5 separate regions of the Homo sapiens genome follow, and all the other regions are linked to region 4. Evidence: promoter capture Hi-C in 16 types of primary human blood cells and fetal thymus (Javierre and others, 2016). All regions are on one chromosome and are shown on one strand. Each heading gives the region's core, a stretch centred on a gene start or on the middle of the fragment in contact. The rest is flanking DNA. Distances are from core to core; before and after follow the strand shown. Region 1 holds the start of CREB3L4 (cAMP responsive element binding protein 3 like 4). Region 2 holds the start of GATAD2B (GATA zinc finger domain containing 2B). Region 3 holds the start of DENND4B (DENN domain containing 4B). Region 4 overlaps HAX1 (HCLS1 associated protein X-1). Region 5 holds the start of SLC27A3 (solute carrier family 27 member 3).

Evidence for each region. The method cuts DNA at HindIII sites, captures the fragments that hold promoters and counts their contacts. A CHiCAGO score of 5 or more calls a contact.
Region 1: a contact is called between the fragment with the promoter of CREB3L4 here and a fragment that was not itself captured in region 4, in 2 of 17 cell types (naive CD8 T cells and fetal thymus). The highest score is 6.1, in naive CD8 T cells.
Region 2: the fragment with the promoter of GATAD2B here is called in contact with a fragment that was not itself captured in region 4 in 5 of 17 cell types (fetal thymus, total B cells, total CD4 T cells and 2 more); the score reaches 6.6 in fetal thymus.
Region 3: a contact is called between the fragment with the promoter of DENND4B here and a fragment that was not itself captured in region 4, in 7 of 17 cell types (total B cells, total CD8 T cells, naive CD8 T cells and 4 more). The highest score is 7.0, in total B cells.
Region 5: the fragment with the promoter of SLC27A3 here is called in contact with a fragment that was not itself captured in region 4 in 2 of 17 cell types (naive B cells and non-activated CD4 T cells); the score reaches 6.0 in naive B cells.

Annotation. Positions count from the first base shown.
Region 1 is chr1:153,964,172-153,969,151 of GRCh38, reverse strand. CREB3L4 (cAMP responsive element binding protein 3 like 4) reads right to left here and starts at 1,250. Exons shown (of 10, transcript NM_001255978.2): 1 at 988-1,250; 2 at 453-630; 3 at 1-222. The coding sequence starts at 626. It also overlaps a transcript of SLC39A1 not described here. RefSeq lists enhancers at 984-1,103, 1,134-1,243, 1,454-1,673, 1,108-1,964, 4,828-4,980 and a silencer at 992-1,493. The HindIII fragment of the contact is 4,469 bases long and covers 189-4,657 here.
Region 2 is chr1:153,921,522-153,926,413 of GRCh38, reverse strand. It overlaps GATAD2B (GATA zinc finger domain containing 2B), which reads left to right and starts at 3,442. Exons shown (of 11, transcript NM_020699.4): 1 at 3,442-3,681. It overlaps LOC101928059 (a long non-coding RNA gene), which reads right to left and starts at 3,041. Exons shown (of 4, transcript XR_922160.3): 1 at 2,452-3,041; 2 at 1-173. RefSeq lists silencers at 1,135-1,308, 2,367-2,661, 3,339-3,658 and an enhancer at 2,969-3,208. The HindIII fragment of the contact is 8,959 bases long and covers 1-4,892 here.
Region 3 is chr1:153,943,824-153,948,233 of GRCh38, reverse strand. DENND4B (DENN domain containing 4B) reads left to right here and starts at 1,516. Exons shown (of 28, transcript NM_014856.3): 1 at 1,516-1,933; 2 at 3,837-4,176. The coding sequence starts at 3,860. CRTC2 (CREB regulated transcription coactivator 2) reads left to right here. Exons shown (of 14, transcript NM_181715.3): 14 at 1-559. The coding sequence ends at 125. RefSeq lists enhancers at 945-1,014, 1,826-2,326, 2,795-2,844, 3,165-3,264 and a silencer at 1,405-2,304. The HindIII fragment of the contact is 4,483 bases long and covers 1-3,309 here.
Region 4 is chr1:154,273,369-154,277,855 of GRCh38, reverse strand. HAX1 (HCLS1 associated protein X-1) reads right to left here. Exons shown (of 7, transcript NM_006118.4): 2 at 4,258-4,487; 3 at 3,895-4,082; 4 at 2,855-2,906; 5 at 2,596-2,702; 6 at 2,373-2,463; 7 at 1,981-2,240. The coding sequence ends at 2,155. Among named protein-coding and RNA genes, the nearest start is that of HAX1, 3.0 kb to the right of the region's middle. The HindIII fragment of the contact is 1,134 bases long and covers 2,092-3,225 here.
Region 5 is chr1:153,772,773-153,777,272 of GRCh38, reverse strand. It overlaps SLC27A3 (solute carrier family 27 member 3), which reads right to left and starts at 1,866. Exons shown (of 10, transcript NM_024330.4): 1 at 1,109-1,866; 2 at 546-755; 3 at 53-211. The coding sequence starts at 1,775. It overlaps INTS3 (integrator complex subunit 3), which reads right to left. Exons shown (of 30, transcript NM_023015.5): 29 at 4,192-4,348; 30 at 2,465-4,080. The coding sequence ends at 4,003. RefSeq lists a silencer at 1,239-1,430 and an enhancer at 799-1,465. The HindIII fragment of the contact is 7,576 bases long and covers 1-4,500 here.

The DNA.
Region 1 (4,980 bases), core at 1-2,500, 310 kb after region 4:
ATTTGGCCCAGTTTCCCCCTGCATCCTCTCCAGGGCCCCTGCCTCATAGACAACCTCATAGAGCATAGGAGAACTGGTTGCCCTGGGGGCAGGGGGACTGTCTGGATGGCAGGGGTCCTCAGAGATGCCACTGTCACTGCCAGGAGATGCTTCTGAGCAGTACACCTCATTGGGATCAATGAAAAGCTTCAAGAAATCTTCAGGCTCACTCTCTTGAAGGCCCTACAGTAGGAAAAGGTTATATATATGTGCAGGGAAGAATTTTGGAAGTCCTCCCTGACTTATGCTTCATTTTCAGTCCTTTCACTTCTTGGGCATGGAGACAGTTATTATACAACTTACGTCTATTTTGGGGGTGGTCTGTTTTCAGACCTGTCTCCAAGTGGGAGCTGAAGCCTCTTATCACAGAGTTGTGTCTCAACCCCACCCCCACTCCCACTCGTCACACTCACACAGCCACGGTCCCCACCGGACTTCCAGCCTTGCAGTCCCTGTTCCTGTAGCCTAGTTACCGGAACCTCTGGAGGGGGGCAGTGGAGTCCCAGCTCCAGGACGGATCCTGTCGAGAAGATATCCTCTGGGGGCTCCAGCCACGCGTCCAGCAGGTCAGGGATTCCGAGATCCATGCTTCTGCAGGAAGGCGTGTGGGACGGAGGGTTGCAGAAACGGAATGATGGCTGCTTACTACCCCCTACAGTTTCTGGGCTCCTCTGCTCCCTTTTCCATTATCCCCGCCCCCCCACTCCTTCCTCACTAGCAAGCCCCCTCACCTGTCCCCTCGATATTTCACCTTCAGCCCTATCCCTCAGGTTTAGACAAAGAGGCCCCCCCCAAGCATTACCTGTTCTGAAGAGCCCAGCCCTGTCAAGCCAGCATAGCCCGTTGACCTCCCCAAACACTACACCTTTTCTTTCTTCCAGGATCTCGTATCCTGGACCTGCCAGCCAAACCCCGCCCCCAGCCTTACACTACAAAAGTGGATGCCACCTTGCCAGGAGCCACGGTAGGGCCGCTGTATCTGGGAGTAGGGGACTAAGAGTCTGAGGGTCCACAAACGGAATTTAAGAAGTAGGTAGCCGCGCCCTTTCTGCTGCAGTTTTCTCTTAGCTATAGTAAATCTTCCTGAGGGTTTGGTGTCTCCTAGCTGAAGAACAGAAAAGGCTGTGACTGGAGCACAGGACTCCTGAATGCCTGTTCTGTAGCCCTCGCTTTTGCAAGAGGGAGATCATGGCAGGGTTGTAAACAAAGGCGGAAAGAGTCAAGAGACCTGCGAATTTACTAGGGCATCCCCTCGCCCACCGCGTGGCGCTCTTCCCAAAGCTGAGTCCTGATTGGAAGCTGAAGACTTAGGTTTCGGAGGGGCAGGACATCGAGCCAATGGCACACTACCCTCTCAAGGCCGCCTCTTCCGTAACTGGTCGGAGACAGTTTGGCTGTTCAGGAGAGTCAGGCCAATGGGGCCGCAGTTCTTTCTTTTTTTTTTCTTTATTCTTATTTTTGGAGACAGGGTCTCGCTCTGTTGCCCAGGCTGGAGTGCGGTGGTGCGATCACGGTTCCATGCAGCCCCCGACCTCCCGGGCTCAGGTGATTCTCCCGCCTCAGCACCGCGAGCAGCTAGGACCACAGGCGCGAGCCACTGCGTCCGGCCGGCGGGACTTATTTGTCAGGCGGGGATTGGGTTCCGCCAGCCTAAAGGGAGGGGTAAGCGCCAGAATATGAATCGCCGGGAAGCTGGGAGAAAGCTCCGGGAAACCCTGAGCAGCCAGGTTTGTCTTCGCGCGCCACGTGACTCGGAAGCTCCGGTTTCACCCAGGCGGGGAGTCAACAGCCCGCTGACCCCAGTGGAGCGGTGATCCTCGCTCGGCAGGCGGCAGGAGCGCGATGGCGGGTTTCCCCGTCCGCAAGCCGAGCAGTGTGGCGTTAATGGAGAACAGCAGCTGTGCGCACACGCTCGCTGCACGCTGCTCATTCACGGAGGGACACGGGGCAGGAAAACTGCAACAAGTTAAAAAGCCTTTTGCGTTTGTTGTCTTATTGTTTGCATACAGTTACCGGGAACATTATGTCCCACACTTGTATAATTTACAAAACGTTTTCATAAAAATTGTTCTCTTCCTTAATCCATAACAGTTCTGAGGCACACACGGCGGGTAATATTTTGCAAATTTTACCTATGAGGAGGCAGATCCATGACTAGAAAGTAGTAATACCAAAACTCAGGGTTGATTGATTATTTTTATTTTTTTGCCTTGGTCTAATGTCTGATGGTCCAGGAATTCACTTCAAGTAAAACAATGGAGGTAAACTGATACAGGTATGGTTTTCAGTAGTATTTCAGAAAAGGGTAGCTGGGTGAGTAAAACAGTAGTTTGGAGTGTGAATCCCAGAACTCAAACTGCTACTAATTATCCTTATGAAGATTTGAACGGGCTAAGGGTAAAAACGGGAACAGGGTCTAGTCAGGCATTTCCATGTTACTCATATAATTCTTACAGCAGATGGAGCTGACAAGTTTGTTTGTTTGTTTTTCTTTTGCTCTGTGGCCCAGGCTGGAGTGCAGAGGCTCGATCTCGGCTCACTGCAAGCTCCGCCTCCCGGGTTCACGCCATTCTCCTGCCTCAGCCTCCCTAGTAGCTGGGACTACAGGCGCCCAGCTAATTTTTTTGTATTTTTAGTAGAGACAGGGTTTCACCGTGTTAGCCAGGGTGGTCTCGATCTGACCTCGTGATCCGTCCACCTCGGCCTCCCAATGTGCTGGGATTACAGGCGTGAGCCACCACGCCCGTCCGAGCTGACAAGTTTAAGTAACTTTCTCAAGGTTACCCTGTAAGTAGCTGAACCAAGATTTGGATGCTTCAGCCCATGTTCTTCACACTATCAACCCACCTTGTGGGGCTTTCTCAGATTTCTTATCTGTCTTTCCCGCTCATATCTCTCCATCCTGCTCAAGTAGTGAAGAGACAAAGCAGCCTTCCTAGATTGATGCAGAGCTCCAAGGAAAGCAAAGCTGTTCTTGTTGAGATCATTCTGAGAGCGAGAAAGGTGGTTAAATACATTTCAAAGGGCTTCCTGCGGGCTGTATGTGCAGAGATGATTTGAGTGGGGAATGTAGTTAGCTTCCGTTGATGTTAGAACTGGAAGGACCCTCTGCAGTCATCTGCTTGTTTAACTTCCTCCTTGCCCCTGATTTATCAAACTCTGGTGAGGAAAACTGACTTGCCTAAAATCATACATCAAGGTAAGGTAAAATTGAGGAGATCTATTGGGCCGGGTGTGGTGGCTCACACCTGCAGTCCCAGCACTTTGGGAGGCTGAAGCGGGTGGATCACCTGAGGTCAGGAGTTCAAGACCAGCCTGGTCAACATGGTGAAATCCCGTCTCTACTAAAAATACAAAAATTAGCCGGGCGTGGTGGCGGGCGCCTGTAATCCCAGCTACTCGGGAGGCCGAGGCGGGAGAATTGCTTGAAACCTGGGAGGCAGAAGTTGTAGTGAGCCAAGAGCATGCCACTGCATTCCAGCCTGGGCAACACAGCAAGACTCTGTCAAGAAAGAAAGGAGGAAAGAAGAAAGGAAGGAAGGAAGGAAAAAGAAAAGAAATAAAGTTGCCAAGAGATTTTAAATGTTCTCATCACAAATAAATATGTGAAGTAATGCATATGTTAATTAGCTTGATTTACCCATTCTGCAATGTACATATATTTCTTTTCTTTTTTCTTTTTTTTTGAGACGGAGTCTCGCTGTGTCGTCCAGGCTGGAGTGCAGAGGTGTGATCTTGGCTCACTGCAACCTCCGCCTCCCCGGTTCAAGCGATTCTCCTGCCTCAGCCTCCTGAGTAGCTGGGATCATAGGCATGCGCCACCACGCCTGGCTAATTTTTGTATTTTTAGTAGAGACAGGGTTTCACCATGTTGAGCAGGCTGGTCTCCAACTCCTGACCTCGTCATCTGCCCGCCTCGGCTTCCCAAAGTGCTGGGATTACAGGCGTGAGCCACCGCGCCCGGCCCAATGTACATATATTTCAAAACATCATGTTGTACACCATAAATATATACAATTATTAATCATATATGACATATGTATGTGTATAAATAAACAAATATATATATTTGACAACTATAAAGGTAGAACTTGGACCAGAATCCAGGTTTCCTGACCCCCCCAGTCATAATTCCTTGTTAATGTTACCAATTACGAATAATTTTTTTTTTTGAGACGAAGTTTCGCTGTTGTTGCCCAGGCTGGAGCGCAATGGCGCGATCTCGGCTCACTGCAATTTCCGGCTCCCGGGTTCAAGCGATTCTCCTGCCTCGGCCTCCCGAGTAGCTGGGATTACAGGCCCCCGCCACCACGCCCGGCTAATTTTTGTATATTTAGTAGAGACGGGGTTTCACCATGTTGACCAGGCTGGTCTTGAACTTCTGTCCTCAGGTGATTCATCCTCGGCCTTCCAAAGTGCTTGGATTACAGGCGTGAACCACCGCGCCCGGCCCCTTAAGAAGTCTTCACATTCCTCTTTTACTTAAGGAATTACTGGGCTTCGTTTCTGGAGCCTTGTGAGAAGCATTACACTGTCCCCCCTTTTTTTTTTCTTTTTTAAAATTAATTTTCCTGTAGGAAGCAAGATCCCATCTGTCCCTTCTTTAGGCAATGAAGCTTTTTTCACCTTTGCATAAAAGAACAGCTGAGCCCCCTTTTTAAATTTTCTTTTGTCTTACCGTCCCTTGAGGCTAGAAGAGGATTCTCAAGGCACAGAGTTGTGGGCCACAAGAATCCAGGTTGAGGAAACGGTGAAAGTCCTGAGCTGAAACAACTACCTTGGGGCATTCAAGGAACAGCAAACAGCAAACCGACCGGCGAGGGTGGCGGGAGCTGGGCTGGAAATCAGGTGGGAGAACCGGCCAGACGCCCGCAGGCGCGGTACGCAGATATCCTGGAATGCGCTGGGGGCTCTTCCCTGGGCGCGGCTTCAGCACCCCGC
Region 2 (4,892 bases), core at 2,193-4,692, 350 kb after region 4:
TCGATCATTCCAGATTGAAAGTCCCCCTCCATGGCCTAAATTTTGGTCTTGTTGAAAAGTATTTTCTCGGGTCTTACTTTTATCTTCCTTGGGCTGGTATATACTACCATGTTTTTCATATCTCCTCAAAGCCCTTGAAGGGTGGCATTTCAGACAGCAAATAATGCAATGGACTGATAATGGACAAAGAAGTAGGTTAGGGAAAGATGAATGTACCCTCAAAGAGGGCAATGACTTTGTCTAATTCACTGCTATATCCTGAGCACATGGATGAGTGCCTGATAACCTAATAGGGGCTCTATCATGTGTGTTCAATGACTGAAAGGAGTCTGAAAGCGTTAAAATATTGCAGTTAGTAGAGAAATAATTTTCAGTACAGTATAAGACCAGTACCATGGGTAGAATACCAACAGAAGCTGAATTTAGAGGTAAGAGAGTGAAATTGTTGAAAAAGCAAGGAAAGTTCTCAAAATAGTTACTATATATTATGTTGAATGCTTTAACTATATTCTTGACAGTGCCCTGAGTATTTTGAAGGTATTATTTTGTAATTCTCATAATTACCTGGTGAGCTGGGTACTCTTATTCCCATTTTATAGATGGGGAAACTAGGGGATAGAGAATAGAGATAAGTAACTTTCAGCCAAATCACACAACTGGTAAGAGGGAGAGCCAAGATCCAAACTCAGGCAATCTGACTCTTGAGACCATATTCTTTACCTGGACACCATACTAGCATAAAAACAAGTTTTAATCTATTTAAAATAAGAATTAGGCCAGGCGTGGTGGCTCACACCTGTAAATCCCAGCACTTTGGGAGGCCAAAGCGGGTAGATCACTTGAGGTCAGGAGTTTGATACCAGCCTGGCCAACATCTCTACTAAAAATACAAAATTTAGCTGGGTGTGGTGGCGGGCACCTGTAATCCCAGCTACTCAGGAGGCTGAGGCAGGAGAATTGCTTGAACCCAGGAGGCGGAGGTTGTAGTGAGCCGAGATTGCGCCACTGCACTTTAGCCTGGGCAATAGAGGGAGACTCTGTCTCAAAAAAAAAAAAAAAAAAAAAAAAGTTGAATGCTGCTTGCAGTGATGTACACCTGTAGTCCCAGCTATTTGGGAGGCTGAAGTGGGAGGATCTCTTTTTTTTTTTTTTTTTTGAGACAGAGTCTCGCTCTGTCGCCCAGGCTGGAATGCAGTGGCAAGATCTTGGCTCACTGCAAACTCCACCTCCCGGGTTCACGCCATTCTCCTGCCTCAGCCTCCCGAGTAGCTGGGACTACAGGCGCCCGCCACCACGACCGGCTACTTTTTTGTATTTTTAGTAGAGACGGGGTTTCACTGTGTTAGCCAGGATGGTCTCGATCTCCTGACCTCGTGATCTACCTGCCTCGGCCTCCCGAAGTGCTGGGATTACAGGCCTGAGCCACCGCGCCCGGCCGGGAGGATCTCTTGAGCCCAGGAGTTTCAGAGCAGCCTGGGTAACATAGCAAGACCTCATCGCTAATTTAAAAAATAAATAAAGTGGGGGCTGCGGTGGGCGCGGTTGTTCACGCCTGTAATCCCACCACTTTGGGACGCCAAGGCGGGTGGATCACTTGAGGCCAGGAATTTATGAGACCAGCCTGGGAAACATAGTGAAACCCTGTCTTTACCAAAAATACAAAAATCAGCCGGGCGTGGTCACGTGCGCCTGTAATGCCAGCTACTTGGGAGGCTGAGGTGGAAAGATGGCTTGAGCCTGGGTGGTGGAGATTGCAGGCAGCTGAGATCACGCCACTGCACTCCAGCCTGGGCGACAGAGGGAGACTGTCTCAAAGAAAAAAAAGAAAAAAAAAATGGGTGCGTCTGTGTTTGTGTAGGATCTACCTACGGCTTTAAGTTGCCATGTCCTCCATTATAATTTCATTTCCATTGCACAGCATGACTTTTAAATAATTTAAAAAACATGTTCAAATACCTGTGGAGGCTGGCGTGGTGGCTCACACACCTGTAATCCCAGCACTTTGGGAGGCTGAGGCAGGAGGATCACCTGAGGTCAGGAGTTCGAGACCAGCCTGGCCAACATGGCGAAACCCCGTCTCTACTAAAAACACAAAAATTAGCCGCGCGCCTGTAATCCCAGCTACTCGGGAGGCTGTTGAGGCAGGAGGATCGTTTGAACCTGGGAGGCGGAGGTTGCAGGAACTGAGATTGTACCACTGCACTCCAGCCTGGGAGACACAGTGAGAAAACAACAATAACAAAATGCCTGTGGAACCAGTTGTTTCTGGGTTTAAACCACTGCTTAGTCACTAACTAGCGGTCTGACCTTTGGCAAGTTACTTAACCTCTCTGAGCCTTAGTTTCCTCATCTACTTGGGTTCAAATTTCAGCTCTACCACTTAACGTGTAACTGGACAAATTTTTTGATCCTAATTTTCCTCATTTGTAAAGTAGGGATAACAGTACCTACCTCACAGTCATGAGGAATAAATACTTCATGTAAAGTTCTTAGCACAGAGCCTGACACAGTCTCTTTCCAAAAACGTTAACTACTATCATAACCTTAACACCCGGACTCTGTTACTTGGTCCCTATCCTCAAGGTGCTCCAGAAACGCTCGCTGAGTTTAGGCGGGCCTAACTGCTCCGTGGAAGCAGGGAGGCCAGCAAAAGGAGCTGGCCCTTGAGTTAATTAGGTGGAATCGGGCGGGGTGGGAGGCTGTTTCCTCGCTGAGAACCTAACCAGACCAGGAGTTCCCAAGAGAAGGAGCTGCGAGGGCTCTGCACACCGTAATTCCTCAGCAACTTGGCTAGCTGCTTTTTTTTTTTTCCTGCTGTCGTGGTTTAGTCACGACAGGACCAAGCGGAGGTACGATGAACACCAGGAAGCTCAAAGCCTTTGGCAGACGGAGACAGGCCACACCCCAAAAAGACGGCAAGGCTCAAGCGCCTAAAGCTAGTTCTATCGTGAAATTTCCTAGAGTCTGTCGCGACGAAACACCGCCCACCGCAGACCCCATCGCCGTTCGCCAGTCTCCATCTTTAGAATTGAAAGAATGAGAGATGGCCAAAGGGGAATCCCGGTTTGGAGAGACTGGGGTACGGCGGCTGCCTGGGGACCAAAACGTCTCTAAGGTAAAGTTGCAGCCTGAAGCGATTTTTTGACCCCCGACACTTAATGGGCTGTCGAAGACCCGGATGTGTCTGGGACTGGCAGAGGTACCCATTAACGCGCCCCCGCTAGACCATCCCCCCTCCTCCGTTTATGATTGGGTTTTAAGCACGCCAATCATCACTTCTCCGGCCACTCATTCTTCAAGGGTGGGGTGAAGTCCCGGCATCTAGTCTTCTACTGGCATGGCCGAGAAGATGAGGGCGGGGTGGCCGGCTTAGGTCGCCCAATGGGCGTCGTGGCGTGTGGGTAAGGCGGAGCCGAGGCGCTTGGCAGCTGCCCAATCAGCGTCCTTGTTTGTGTGGTGCCGCCGCCGCCGGTGCAGCCGTCGCCGCCGCCGCTGCCCCCGTCTGTACCGCAGTGTCTGCTCCGCCCGCCCGCCCCGGTCCGGCCCGCCCCCCTCCCCTACCCCCGTCCCTAGTCCCGTCAGCAGGGTCTGGATCCCCTGTGCCGTCGCCTCTTCCTTTTTCGACGCCTCCGCCGCCGCCTGAGGAGGCGAGCTAGCCGGGAGTTACACCGCCACCGCCAGGTGAGGAGCTTTGGCCTAGGCCAGCCTGGCCGCCCGCCCGCCCGGGGGCGGTGAGGAGCGAGGAAGGGAAGGAGGCTGGGAGGAGGCAGTGGTGGCGGAGGTGGGGGAAGGGAAAGGTGGAGGGGCGGGGGGAGGGGAAGCGCCCGCGAGCCGACGCCCGCCCGCGCGCCCCCGCCTTGCGTCCCCCTCCCCCCACCCCGGCACGGCGCGCCCCCGCCTCGCGCTCCTTCTTCACCTCATCCTCTCCCCCCTTGGCGCGCGCGACCCGGTCTTTCACTTCGGCCTCGCGCGCCCCCAGCTCGTGTCCCTTCATTTCGTCTCCTTGTACTCTTTCTCCCCTCCCTCACGCCCCGTTTCCCCCGCCATCCCCGCTTTCACTCCCTGCCTCATGCCCGCCATGCTCCCCTCCTTTCCTCTCTAGCGCGCCCCCCCCTTTTTTTTTTTAACTCTCTCCACCCCCAGTGGTGCCCTCAGGGTGCGGGGGCCGCTCCCTGCTCAGTCTTGTGTTTGCGGGCGGATGGGACGAATGGGGAATCTAAGGGTAAAGGAAGCACCAGATAATTATCTTTATTTAGGGAAAGGGATCAGGAGCGCATAACCTTACCCCTTTATTTCGTCGTCCACCGTTCGCTCGCCCTCCCGTAGGGGAAGAGAATTGTCTCAGGCTATGTGGGCACTTAGCTTCTACAGCGACTGGGCTTGTGGGACACACTGGATCTGTCTTCCAGTTCAGTTCCTGAGGGTCGGTGGAACTTACCCTTCCCTAACCACACCGGGACTTAGAGTACTTTTGGCCTCCCTGCTCTCAATTACATTGAGGAGCGAGCCACTCATGCGAGTGCAGAGGTTCAGGTGCCATTCGCGCGCCCGGTACAGCTTTCCCGTTTCATAAAGGTATGGTAGCCTCTTTGGATTCTTCCCCAGCATCAACTTCCAAACACAAGATGTTAGCTCATAGGGCTGGCAGTGAGGTGGAGATGGAGGCTTGGTGGTGGGTGGCATGTGGATGCTAACTGAGCTAGCTAGCAACCTTTTCTCTGTTGTCCCCTGGAAAATCAGGTAGCCTCCTGAGAACCAGTTTTCTCATTTCTGATAAATGCTTATTTGGGGGGCGTGTGTGTGTGCGTGTGTGTGTGTGTAAGAGAGAGAGAGAGATGGGGGGATACTTAATACATTTCAGCAGAGGCGAAGGATACTTAATATATTTCAGC
Region 3 (4,410 bases), core at 267-2,766, 330 kb after region 4:
GGCTAGAAGATGAGCTGCGCATGGAGCCACTGGGCCTGGAAGGGCTAAACATGCTGAGTGACCCCTGTGCCCTGCTGCCTGATCCTGCTGTGGAGGAGTCATTCCGCAGTGACCGGCTCCAATGAGGGCACCTCATCACCATCCCTCTTCTTGGCCCCATCCCCCACCACCATTCCTTTCCTCCCTTCCCCCTGGCAGGTAGAGACTCTACTCTCTGTCCCCAGATCCTCTTTCTAGCATGAATGAAGGATGCCAAGAATGAGAAAAAGCAAGGGGTTTGTCCAGGTGGCCCCTGAATTCTGCGCAAGGGATGGGCCTGGGGGAACTCAAGGGAGGGCCTAAAGCACTTGTAACTTTGAACCGTCTGTCTGGAGGTCAGAGCCTGTTGGAAAGCAGGGGTAGAGGGGAGCCCTGGAAGCAGGGCTTTTCCGGATGCCTAGGGGTGGGCAGTGCCAGCCCCTCCTCACCACTCTTCCCCTTGCAGTGGAGGAGAGAGCCAGAGTGGATACTATTTTTTATTAAATATATTATTATATGTTAATAAAAAAATCATATCAAACCCTTGGTGTGGTTAGTTATTTGGGGCATGGCTGGGGATCTAGGGAGTTATAGGGCCATGGGTCTTTTTATCTATTAGGCTTTTTGCATCTTCTTAGCACCACTGTGCTTTGTGGAAGGGCCCCACAGCCTCGGAATTTGTACCCAGCTGGATGTAGGCTTCCACGGCAGCAGGAAATCACTTCATGTGCCCTCCTGTCTGTCCAGGGCCCTGCTGCAGCATCAGATGGGGGCTTTGACTGATCAGACAAGTTATTCCTCTTCCTCAACCCTAGGTCTGGCAGTGAGTCGGGTAAGGAGGTGATTGCTGGCTGAGCCCACAGGTCTGAAGTGCTCCTAGGTCTCAGGGAAGCAAGCCTTCATCCTCACTCCCTCACTATGCATGCATTCACTTCACCCTCTCCACTCTTCACCACTCATTCATTTTAGTTTTAATTAAACAGATCCTTCAGTGCCATGCATGTTCTGAAGGTTTTCTCTTTCTGGATTGGGTTGCCAGCCCTTGGACCAGCCGTGTGGGCCTCTGCACCCCTCACTCCCCCAACCCGCATAGTGAGAAAAGTAGAGCCCCGCAGTTACCTTACCCCCACCTCCACTGCTCTATTCCACACCCTGCAGTCCTGGCCTCTCTTCCTCTTTCCAAAGCTCTTGTCATTTTCAAAAAAGAGAACTGAGAGCTTCTGGTTCTGGTCCAAAGGGAATGCCCTGTGCCCTAAACCTGGAAGTAGGGGGAGCCACCTGGGTCCCCGTAGACTAGACCTTCGGGACTTCACCTGCGCCCACATCATGCTTGCCACATCTGACTGCAGGACCCAGGCGGGAAGGGAGCGCGCCGCGGCCCTCTGGGTCGCCTGGGGTCAGTGTCCTGAGGCACGGGCTGGATGGTGGGAAGCTACCTGGGTGCAGGGGGCCCTCCCAGCCGCCAGGGGTCGGGCTGCAGGCGGCTGGGCTTTGGGCAGACGCTTGCCAGGGTCACGGCCGCCGGCCGAGGAGGAGGGGTGGGGGTAGCGGCGGCGCCCGCGGCCCGGAGCGGGGGTTGGGGGAGTAGAGAAAGCGGGGCGCGCGGAGGAACGCTGGGTCCCCGGCGCCGCGGGAGCTGGGAGGACCGAGCCGGCCGAGCGAGCAGCGCGGCAGCACAGTCCCCGCGTGGCGCAGCGCGGCGGGGACGCGGGGACCGCCCGGATCTCCTTCCACTGCGCCCCGCGCTCTGCGGTCCTCGGCCGCCTCTTCTTCCTTCACTCACTGCCCGGGCGGGAGCGGCGCCCAAGTCGGGTGCGCCATGTCTGGGGCCGGGTAGCCCCGCCGCCCGCCGGCCCGCCAGCTCGCCCTCCGAGCCACCCGCCAGCGGGCCGGCCGGCCGGGAAGCGCGGGACAGGCAGGTAGGGGCTGGACCGGGCTGGGCGGCAGGCGGGGACGGGCAGGAGGGAGCGCGGGCGGCAGGCGGGGTGGGGGATGGCCCCCAGCTGCTGTCCCTCACTGCACATCTGGTTCCGGTTCCTCTCTCCTGGGGAAGTGAAAGTGGAGGGGAGGGCACCTCCCGCAATTAGCTCGCCGTGCCCGGCCTCCTGCACCCCCTTCTGCTCCCGTGGGTGCCGGAGTCGGAGCCGCCCTCCCTCCCGCTTGGGTCACGCGGCGGCCGGCGCTGCTGCCGTCACGTCCTCGGCCGCCGGCGCGCCTGCTTCTCTGCCCTCCTGCTCCTTCCTCAGCCTCCTCCCCCTCGGCGCGCCCTCTGCCCCAACCCGAACTTCCCGTCACCCGGCACGCGGGCGTGGGGACCCGGAGTGGGCCCTGTGCCCGTTGTCTTCCCTAGGGAGAAAGGGCTGCTTTCTGCAGGACTCTTCCCTGGCTTGGTGAGGGGAGGCCCCGGTGCGCAGGTCCTGCGGATGGGTGCCACCCACTTGCCCCTCAGAAGGTCCCACCTAATGGCCTCTGCCTGCTGCCTTGGGCATAGGGCTCCCATTCGCCCTCAGTGGATGAGGGACAGGTCTGTGCCCCAGAATTAAATCAAGAGGCTGACGCTGACTCCTGGCTTTACCTCCCAGAAGTGGAGTCTAAATTTAGCTGGGGTTGGTGTGTGTACGTGTGTGCGTGTGTGTGTGCGTGTGTGTGTGTGTGTGTGTGTCCAGAGGCCAGGTGATGAAGAAAGCCAGCCTGGCTCTATGAGATTCCTTATTCCCTGTTCTCTGGGGGAACAGCAGGAGGTTAGCAGGACTGCACATCCTGGAACCATTCTGAGCCTCCTCTGCCTTGCTCAGGATCCTATAGTCTGAGATTCCAACTTGGCGTAATGCTGTGCTGGCACCTTCAATGGTAACCCCACCACCGCCACCGCCACCACACACACCCATAGGCTGACTTCCTCTGAGTTGCAGCTTCCCCTCCACTGTTTCAGGAAGTAACCTCCCTTCCCCTCTGAAGCACCCCCCACGCTTCTGGGCCCCTGCTGCGAGCTACCCACCAGGCTTTTTCCCAGCTTCTGCACCCTGGGGCGCCTCAGGACCCTTGGGGCTCCTACTCCCCGGGGTTGGGCCATGGAGGCAGGTGAGAACTAGGCTGTTGTGGGCCTGTTTCTGTCTCTGGGCTCCATGGTGGAGGGTGTGGGATGGCCGGGACTTGTCTCTCACAACTGCTTTGGATCTAACGAGCTACCTAAGGATCCTGGAGGTGTGAGAACACTGGATTTTGGGCCAGATTGGTGGAGTTAAGCTAGGAGAAAGGACACTTGGGTTCGTTGAAAAGACTCTTAAAGCTTGGGTTTTGTGGGCTTTCTCAGAAACCCATGGGGTCCTCTTAAAAACCTAGGAGTGGGCTCTTTAAGAACATTGGCAGGATCACAAGGTTCTTATGGTGTCATAACTAGAGTAGGAAGGTCAGAAACCCTTGAAAAGACTGTAAGGTTGGTATGATGTCATGGCCAGCATGAATGATGTCATGGAAGGCTATTACAAAAAAGATTGTGATCTCTGTGATGTTATAACTGGTGAGCCTTTAAAAGGGACACATGGACAATGTGAATGTCATAGCTCAGGTTAGCTGTGTGTGGTGGAGTTTAGGTTCTTTGAGGGGAGTGCCAGGACCATTAAGTGGGAGGGATCTGGTCTCTTTAAGAAGCTGTGGTGGGCAGTGATGTCACAGGGGGAAGAGTTCAGGATTGGCCGACCCCTTATCCTGCCTTTCTTTGGAAGGACTAGGAAGAGGAGGGGAGCAAGAGGGTACCCTGGTTGCCATGGCATCCCCAGCCTTCCTTGCTTCATCTCTCTCCCACTTGACCATTCCAGATGCAGTGAGTGAGGGGGGGGCCATGGCGGAGGAGCGGCCCCCCCGGCTGGTGGATTACTTCGTGGTAGCTGGGCTTGCAGGGAACGGAGCACCCATCCCTGAGGAAACGTGGGTTCCTGAACCCAGTGGGCCCCTGCGCCCTCCCCGGCCAGCTGAGCCCATCACAGATGTGGCAGTCATCGCTAGGGCACTGGGCGAGGAAGTGCCCCAGGGCTACACATGCATCCAGGCTTCTGCTGGGGGCCACCCCTTGGAACTCAGTGCTGGACTTCTGGGTGGAACTCAACCCGTCATCTGCTACCGCAGGGGCCGTGACAAGCCCCCCCTCGTTGAGCTGGGGTGTGTGCCCCTACCCATGCTGGCACCAGGGGAGGCTGGGAGGGACTCCAGTGAGACAGGGAGAGGTAGGACTATGGAACAAGGGAAGGGCAATGGGGATGGGAGCCTGGTGGGCCAGGGGCCAGGAAGGAAGGACTGAAGTTGTATGTACTTAGTCCTTACAGATGCGATTTCATGTGCTAGTGCTGCTCCTTGCTAGCTCTGAGAGCTTAGGCAGGTTTTTGAGCTCCTCTG
Region 4 (4,487 bases), core at 1,409-3,908:
GTTTCACCATGTTGGCCAGGCTGGTCTCGAACTCCTGACGTCAAGTGATCTGCCCACCTTGGCCTCCCAAAGTGTTGGGATTACAAGTGTGAACCACAGTGCCCAGCCTGCTTGAACTCCTGACCTCAAGTGATCCACCCGCCTCAGCCTCCCAAAGTGCTGGGATTATAGGTGTGAGCAACGATGCCCAGCCTGCTCAGCCAATTTTTAAAAAATATTTTGCGGGGCGTGGTGGCTTACGCCTGTAATCCCAGCACTTTGGGAGGCTGAGGCAGGCGGATCACAAGGTCAAGAGATCGAGACCAGCTTGGCCAACATGGTGAAACCCTGTCTCTACTAAAAATACAAAAATTAGCTGGGCGTGGTAGCACGTGCCTGTAGTCCCAGCTACTCGGGAGGCTGAGGCAGGAGAATCACTTGAACGCGGGAGGCAGAGGTTGCAGTGAGCCGAGATTGCGCCACTGCACTCCAGCCTGGGTGACAAAGCGAGAGTCCATCTCAAAAAAAAAAAAAAAAAAAAAAATATATATATATATATATATATATTTTAGAAATAGGATCTTGCTATGTTGCCTCCGCCTCCTGGGCTCAAGTAATCCTCCTATCTCAGCCTCCCAAGTAGCTAGGATGATAGGTACAGTCTAACACACCTGGTTAAAAACTTTTATAATGAGAAAAGGAAGCCTGGGCAACATGGCAAAACTCCGTCTCTACAAAAAATACAAAATAATAATAATAATAAAAGGAAAAAAAACGAGAAAAAAAATTAGCTAGGCATGGTGGTGTACGCCTGTAGTCCCAGCTACTCAGGAGGCTGAGGTGGGAGGACTGAGCCCAGGTCGAGGCTACAGTGGGCCAACATCGCCCCCTACACTCCAGCCTGTGTGACAGAATGAGACCCTGCCTCAAAAAGAAAAAAGGACCTAGTAACGTTTGTGCCAGGTGTATTTTCTCTAACATACATAACAATTTTTTGAGATGGAATTTCGTTCTTGTTGCTCAAGCTGGAGTGCAATGGCATGATCATGGCTCACTGCAACCTCCACCTCCTGAGTTCCAGCAATTCTCCTACCTCAGCCTCCCAAGTAGCTGGGATTACAAACATGTGCCACCACATCTGGCTAATTTTTGTATTTTTAGTAGAGACAGGGTTTCACCGTATTGGTCAGGCTAATCTCGAACTCCTGACTTCATGTGATCCATCTGCCTCGGCCTCCCAAAGTGCTGGGATTACAGGCGTGAGCCACCACACCCAGCCACATAACAACTTTTTAAGGCCAGTAAAGTAAGGGAAATTTACCCATGTGCTTCCCCAGTTACTTCATGAACTCTCCAGTCAGTGATCCCACACTCAGGGAAGCAGTTAACCCCTACTTCCACACCCACACCCTTTTTTTGGGAATCTGATGTATCCCTCTCTAGAAATTTTCCTGAAATTATTTCTAGTCATCTCCTCAGTAAGAAAAATCATTTTTCTTTTTCTTTTCTTTTCTTTTTTTTTTTTTTTTTTTTTTTTGAGATGGAGTTTCACTCTTGTCGCCCACGCTGGAGTGCAATGGCGTGATCTCGGCTCATTGCAACCTCCTCCTACCAGGTTCAAGCGATTCTCCTGCCCTAGCCTGGGATTACAGGCACCCGCCACCATGCCCAGCTAATTTTTGTATTTTTAGTAGAGACAGAGTTTCACCACATTGGCCAGGCTGGTCTTGAACTCCTGACCTCAGGTTATCTGCCTGTCTCAGCCTCCCAAAGTGCTGGGATTACAGGCATGAGCCAACGAGCCCGGCCTCTTTTTTTTTTTTTCTTGCTTGAGAAAGAAAAATCATTTTCTACTTGTGCCTGACCCTTACTTATGAAATCAGGTTTTAGATGCAGAATAAAAAATTAAGGAATAAGGAGAAGGCAGAGGACCAAGATAATTTCGGAAGTGTTGGATGGTTCTAGAAACTGAAATAGCCTTGACAAAACCAAGACAAAAAATTAGCATAAATAAAGGTTTTATTGGTCAGTTTGGGTGAGTGACAAACTGACATGGCCCCAGTTCACTATTCCACATATCCAAGCCCCTGAGGTGGCAAGAGAAGCTAAGCTTATTAATGGTGGGCAATGGGTGAGAGGTGGAAAGGACTTGAAGGCCTCTGAGGGTTAACAAGGCTACCGGGACCGGAACCAACGTCCCAGGAATAAGTCCAGGATGGAAAAGGCATCATCCAGGGCTGGAGGTCTTGGTGATTCTGGATCTAAGGAAGAAAGTCATACACGTAAATAGGCTAAATGAAAGAGACTAGGCAGAAGCAAAGGACAAGGGTAGAAGAGTAAGATTTCCCTTCCCCAAGGAATCTTGAGATGAACCCCTTTGTCTTTTAACTTACCACCCCTAGGACTGCTATCTGCTTCGTGTCGGGTTACTGTAGTCTCTGTCCGGCCCTCACTGTCCACCACAGTCCGGCGCTCCTCCACTATCTACAAAGAGAAGTCCCCACCATATTCCGAATGTTACTAAAGGTTATGCTCAGCAGTTTCTTTACACAGATCCCTGTTTCAGGGCATTCGTTCCCTGGCCATACTTTCCTTTACCTCTTTCTTTCAACTCACCCCATCTGGTTTAGTGATCTTGGTCACAGAGATGCTCTTGAAATAGGATTTGGGCTGGGGCTGTAGAACCGGGCCAAGACCCTCCTGGGAAACCTGGGAATCAAGATCTGGAAGAGCAGAGAGATGAAGAAGCAGGAGAGAAAGAGTCCAAAGGAAAAAAGGAGACAAGTGTACAGGAAGAAACTTCAGGGAGGGAGAACACACAGAACTTCAGAAGAATAACAAAAGGCTGGTAAACTTCCCCTTCCTCCAGACTTACCATTGTCCTCTCTGGTTCTAGGATGGGGGTCCATAGGCCATACATCATCAAACTGCAGAAGAAACCATAGTAAGTGAAAAGACTCCTTCCAATCTGAAATTTGAAAGGTCATAGACCTCAAACTACTCCCGAGCTCCAAAACCCCCTTCCACAGAAGAGATAATTCCATTCAGAATAGCCTTATTTACACACTCCTTCCTGGCTGTTTTATGTATCCTTCTACCAGAAAGACTTCCTGAACTGATATATTCCTATCCTCTGTGCACAATCCTGCCTTATCCAAGAATTATCTAGACCAGTGGTGTTTTTTTGTTTTTGTTTTTTAAAAGAAACAGAACACCCATCTCCCCCCAAAGAAAATCCCACAAGCTTAATATAGAAAACAGAAAACACTAAATGGAGGGCTTAGGATTCCAACCCAAGGCTATCAGATTCAAACAAGAATTGCAATCTTTGGCCAGGCATGATGGCTCACACTTGTAATTCCAGCACTTTGGGAGGCCGAGGTGGGTGGATCACCTGAGGTCAGGAGCTCAAAAGCAGCCTGGCCAACACGGTGAAACGCCATCTCTACTAAAAACACAAAAATTAGCTGGGCGTTTGGCAGGCGACTGTAATCCCAGCTACTCAGGAGGCTGAGGCAGGAGAATCACTTGAACCTGGGAATTGGAGGTTGCAGTGAGCTGAGATTGTGCCACGGCACTACAGCCTGGGCAACAGAGCAAGGCTGGGTCTCAAACAATTTTTGAGATGGAGTCTCCACCTCCTGGGTTCAACCAATTCTCCTGCCTCAGCCTCCTGAGTAGCTGGCATTACAGGCACCTGCCACCATGCCCGGCTAATTTTTTGTATTTTTAGTAGACACGGGGTTTCACCATGTTGACCAGGCTGGTCTCCAACTCCTGACCTCTGGTGATCTGCCCACCTCGGCCTCCCAAAGTGCTGGGATTACAGGCGTGAGCCACCGCACCTAGCCAGTCTTTGCACTTTATTAGTGGTCTCTCACAAGCTCTCACTTCAGGACCAGATGGGATACTCACCCTATGAAATGGCCTCTGGGAGCCCCAGTCTGGTGCTGGTTGGGGGGATTCACTTCTTGCATCACTCTCCAAGACCCCCCCAAAGATCCTGGGCTGGTGACTATCTGGATACTTAAGCATTGAGTCCCGAAGTGTCTGTCCCTCCCGTAGTCTCTCACCAGGTGTCTCTGACTCAGGACCTGGAAGTTCTGCAGAAAGGTGGCAGGTGTTTGCTGGGATGGGAAAGGACTTGGGCTCTATTAATCTCTCTGAAATCATCAGTCTTCTCACACTTCCCATCCCCCAGCTACTCCCTGCAGGCTCTTTATTTCACCCACCAACCCACCAGAAACCACAGGTTGCCCCTTAGGGAAAGCCACACACCAGGAGGATGGGAAGGCAAGGTCCAGGCCCCCATATCGCTGAAGATGCTATTGAAATCTCGTACTAGGTCATCAAAGCCGAAGTTATCGTGGAAACGTATCCCTCCTCCTGGGCTGAAGCTGAAGCCGAAGCCAAATTCCTCAGGGGGGTGCTGAGGACTATGGAACCTTGGGTTCCCACGGCCCCATGAGCCCCCTTCTTCTTCTTCTTCCTCATCATCATCTTCATCT
Region 5 (4,500 bases), core at 617-3,116, 500 kb after region 4:
TTAATAAATGTCTACTGGATGAATTAATGAAGGTGGGGTTGGGGAGACTGACCAATGCCCATGCAGCCCACGATGCCCAGCAGGGAACCGGACATGTGGTAGAGTGGGAGGGCGAGGTAGATCACATCTTCCTGGTGGACACCACACAGCTGATAGAAGCCCTGGCATTGCAGGATCTTCAGATGACTGATCCGAGCAGCCTTGGGGAGGCCTGTGGGGTGGCAGTTATGGGACGATCAGGGGAAGGGCAAACTCCAAGCTCTACCTATCTGTTTGCACCCCCGCTGGGTTTCCCACAGAAAGAGGCGGAGGCAGGACAGAAGCTGAGGACCGAGACCAGGCTGTCCTGGAAATATGGGTGGTCTGGGGGAGGTGGAGAAATGAGTAGGAGGTGAGGAGACTGGGGAGTGAAATGATGGGGAGAAAAAGGATGTGCCAATGAAATCAGCATCCTCTCTGGGGGCTTTGAAGGAGTGGTCTGGGAGCAGACCCCTGCCTTCCTCTGCCTTGGTTTCGGGGAGCTAAGTATGGTGCCCGGCCCTCACCCGTGGTGCCAGAGGTGAAGATGTACAGGCACGTGTCTGTTATGCTCTGGGGGGAAGAGAGGTATCCTGGCACTGGCCCATCCACTTCAGCGGACACTTCAGCCAGCAAATCGCTAATTCCAGCAGGGTGGGTTCCTGGGCCTGCAGCCCACAGGTGGAGCCCCATGGCTCTCAGGGCGGGCAGGTCCGGCTCCAGGGACTCCAGAAACTCTAGAAGGGTGGGAAAGCACAACGCCGGGGCCCTGGCTCTACCTAGAAGAGCCTATGACCCATGTCCCCTCCCTATCCCAGCCCACACTGCTCTTGGATGAGGGTGAAGGGTATGGACATTCCATCTTGGGTCTGAGGCCTGGAACTCGACTCCTTGGGGATCCTTGGGGCACCAAAGATTCAGCCTCATCCCTTCTCAAACCCGGAGACTCCTATCTCCACCCACTTTCGAACCCCAAGGGATAGTCGGCTTCTTCCCAGGCCCAGGGATGAGACCAAGCCTTTCTGTGGTCTCCGACACGCCCCCTTCTGTGGCTGGCCCCGCCTTAGTCAGTTCGGAGCTCCAGCCTTACCTGGCGCCAGCACCAGCGCGCGCGCGCCGCAGCTGCGGAGGCAGTGCAGCAGGGGGCCCCGGCGCAGGGCGGTGGGCACAAAGGCAGTGCGCAGGCCGGCCTTGGCCAGCCCGAACCAGAGCCACAGAAACTCTGGGCCAGCGGGGAGGAGCAGCGCCACAGTTGCTCCAGGTGACAGAGGGGCGGCGGCTCCTCCACCTCTGGCGGCACCGTCCCCTCCGGCAAACTCCGCGCCGCTTCCGGCCGCTGCATCTCCGGCTCCCGGCGCTGCCCGCTCGCCTTCTCCAGCGCTCCCCTCGCCGCTGTCGCCGCCGTCGGGTCCCCAGTCCCAGCCTAGCGCACGTAGGAAGGCGCGTGCAGCCCTGTTACTCTCGCGCTCCGCCTCTGAGTAGCTAAAGCGCCGCGAGCCGTGAATGAGAAAGGTGTGCGCGGCGCGCTGCTGGGCCAGTTCCGCGAGGCGCCAGGCCAGGCTGCAGCCCCCCTCGGGACCTTCCGGGTCGGCGGCAGCCGCGGCCAGGGCGCGAGCTCGAAGAGCCCTTTTGCAGCACAGAGCTCGCACCGCAAAGGCCAAGTCCGCCGGAAGCCAGCGCAACTGCGGCCAGAGGTGTAGCTTCAGCAGCAGCAGCGGTAGCAACAGCAGCAGGGGCAGCAGCAGGAGGGCAGCCATGGAGCCCGCTTCCTCTATCGGCACCGTCTGGTTCCAGCCGCTCGCAAACATCCCTGATCCTCCCTTCCGAAAACCTAGGGCCGCTCGTTCTAGCTGAGACTTCTCCTTCCAGGGAGCGCGCGTGCGCTGGCACACGCCCATTCCCACCCAGGCCCCCACCACTCCACACGGGCGGAGAGCAGAAACCCGGGAGGAGTGCGGGTGTGGGGCGGCCCCGGACTCCCAGCCCTCCCCCCACAGCCTACGCTCCGCCCTAGGCGCGCTCCCTCCCGGACTGCTCGCGGCTCGCACCCTACCAGGTCCTGGGCGGTGCTCGCGCCTTCCCTGAATCCCAGGGTTATGTCTGTCTTCTAAGTTGTTTCTCGGCTTGGGCGGTTTAGGCATCTGGCTAAGCCCTAGAGTCCAGGCCTGAGAGCCAGGGCGTTTGGATCGCAGTCCATCTTCCCCTCAATATTTCTCGTTTTCCCGTTAAGGGAAGGTACCATTGCTCTCTCCCAAAAGAATGAACTTGGCCCCTGGCCCATTTGGTTCTGCAAGTCCCGGCCTGCCAGCCGCAACCCCAGGGGATGGGTGGGGGCTGAGAGTTAAATAGGGGAAAGGTGGAAACCCAGACTGCCAGATTTCTGAGGGGTCACGACAGAGGCCCCTCCCTTTGGGCAAGGGTACAATAATTGGGGCCAGCCAGCAAATGCTCTCCATCCTGGTTTTAATTGGGACAGAGGAAACTGGGGAAGGAGAGAGGAAGGAAAAAGAAGCCTCCAGTGGTTTAGACTTTCAAAGGAAGCAACAGCAGTGATGAGGGAGGGGAGAACCTGGATTCTGTAAAAAGACAAATTTTCGGGGTGAAGAGGAGCAGCTCTGTGCAGTTCGCCCAAACTTCACTCCTCAGTCCACCTCCATTCTCCCTGGACAGCGGGGGAACAACAGCATAGCCAAGGAACTCTCCTCTGCTGGTTCACATGGCCCAGCAAGTGGCCACACTGTGGAAGGAAGAGCATCTCTGTCCCTCCCTGGTATCCAGACTTTATCTCCAGGTACAGTTGTCCCTGGAGACCAAGCTGGAGCATCCCTCCCGTCAAGCAGCGAGTCCTCCGGCCATTCTTGGTAGGCACACAGACTTCAACTGGAGGATGACAGACCTTTTGGAAGCATCTTGTTTCTTGAGAAATGAGTAAGGACAGGCCTCATCCTACGGGGGATGGTTCTGCATAGACAGATCAGTGCCTGGCTCCCACCTCCAGTGGCAGCAGGAAGGATGGGTAGTGGCCAAAGCCAAGTCCCTTCTGCTCTAGACAAAAGTGGGGGCAGAACAGGAAGGGAAAGGGGGATGTTCTGCGGTTACAAGTAGGGGTGCCAATCAAATCAAGACCAAGCTATACATGCACGGGGCAAATGCCAGCAGACACTCCAGCACAAAAGACATTCTGGCTTGTTTTATTGTCATTTAAAAACAACTTTTAAGACACGATTATCTCTGCCAAAAAAAAAACAAAAAAAAACAAAAAAAAAAACAGACTCAAGGAAATGGGATCATTTGACAATTCTGTGAAACTTGCCTCTGGGACTCCCTGGGCTCTGGTGTAGATTGAGGTGCCAACCTCAGACCAACCTAAGCCTCCAGGGCACACCACGTGGGGCTGTGGCCACCCTTTCAGACTCCTTTCTGAATGCTTGTGGCATCTGCCCCATGATTAGGAATGGACACCCTGACCACGTCATAGATGCCCATTTCACACTGGCATGTGGATAGTGACTATAAAACGTCCCTTCAGAACAAACCAAGACCTGAAGGGGAAGCAGGAAGGGACACCCACACACTGAGTCTCTGCTCTCATCCTAGCTTATCTGGCCAGCTGCCCCTTTGTCATTTCCCTTCTCTGTTGAAATGGCTCTTTGGGAGACTGGGGGAGGAGATTGCGGAAGGGGCCAGGGGGCTGAGGACTTCCACTATGGTCTGATTTTACAGAGCCTCTGGCTTCAGTCAGATCCCAAATATCACTGGGAACAGCAGTGTGAGGGGCTGGAGGCCCCAGGAGGAGGGAAGGGGCTAGGGGCTGCATGGCAGCTTCTCAAACTCAGCCAGAGGAGAAAGCTCCTCCTTCCACCGGGGGAGCTTGGGGATGCAGCAAGGGTGTTTCCCCTGCAATCTCCTCAGCCTCTATTAACCTTTGAATCACCAAGAAGGAGAGGGCAGTCCAGCCGGGGGTGGGATGGGGAATGCAGGGCCTCAGTCACTGTCAGAGCCCACTGCAGAGGACCCTTTTCGTTTCCGCTTGGTAGGCTTCGGTTTCGTGTCTTCCTCTTCCTGGAAGAGATGGGAGGGGAAATGGGAAGTTAACAGCCTGGGCAGCTGCTGGCGCCGACTCCACCTGCACCCAGTGCTCCTTTTCCCCCTGTGCACTGGCTGGGTTCTCACTGAAGCACTGCTGGAGCCCGACTCTTCTTCGGCATTGGGGGGCTGTGTGGCATTCTTTCGACTTCGAGGGCTGGACAGAGCTGCTTTTCGCCGGCTCTTGGGTGGCTTGGTGGAAGAGTCCTCATATTCCTCCGCCAGGGAGAAGAGATCACTGAATCTAAGGAAAAGGAGCGGTAGCTCTTTGAGTGGGAGCCTGCTGCTCCTACGGCACCTCCCATCCTCTTCTCTGCCCCCAGGCCTAGGCCTTCTTTTTCTTCAACCCTGGACCCTAAGGTCTTGCTGGCCATTACGTTTATGTCCCTAGCAGGC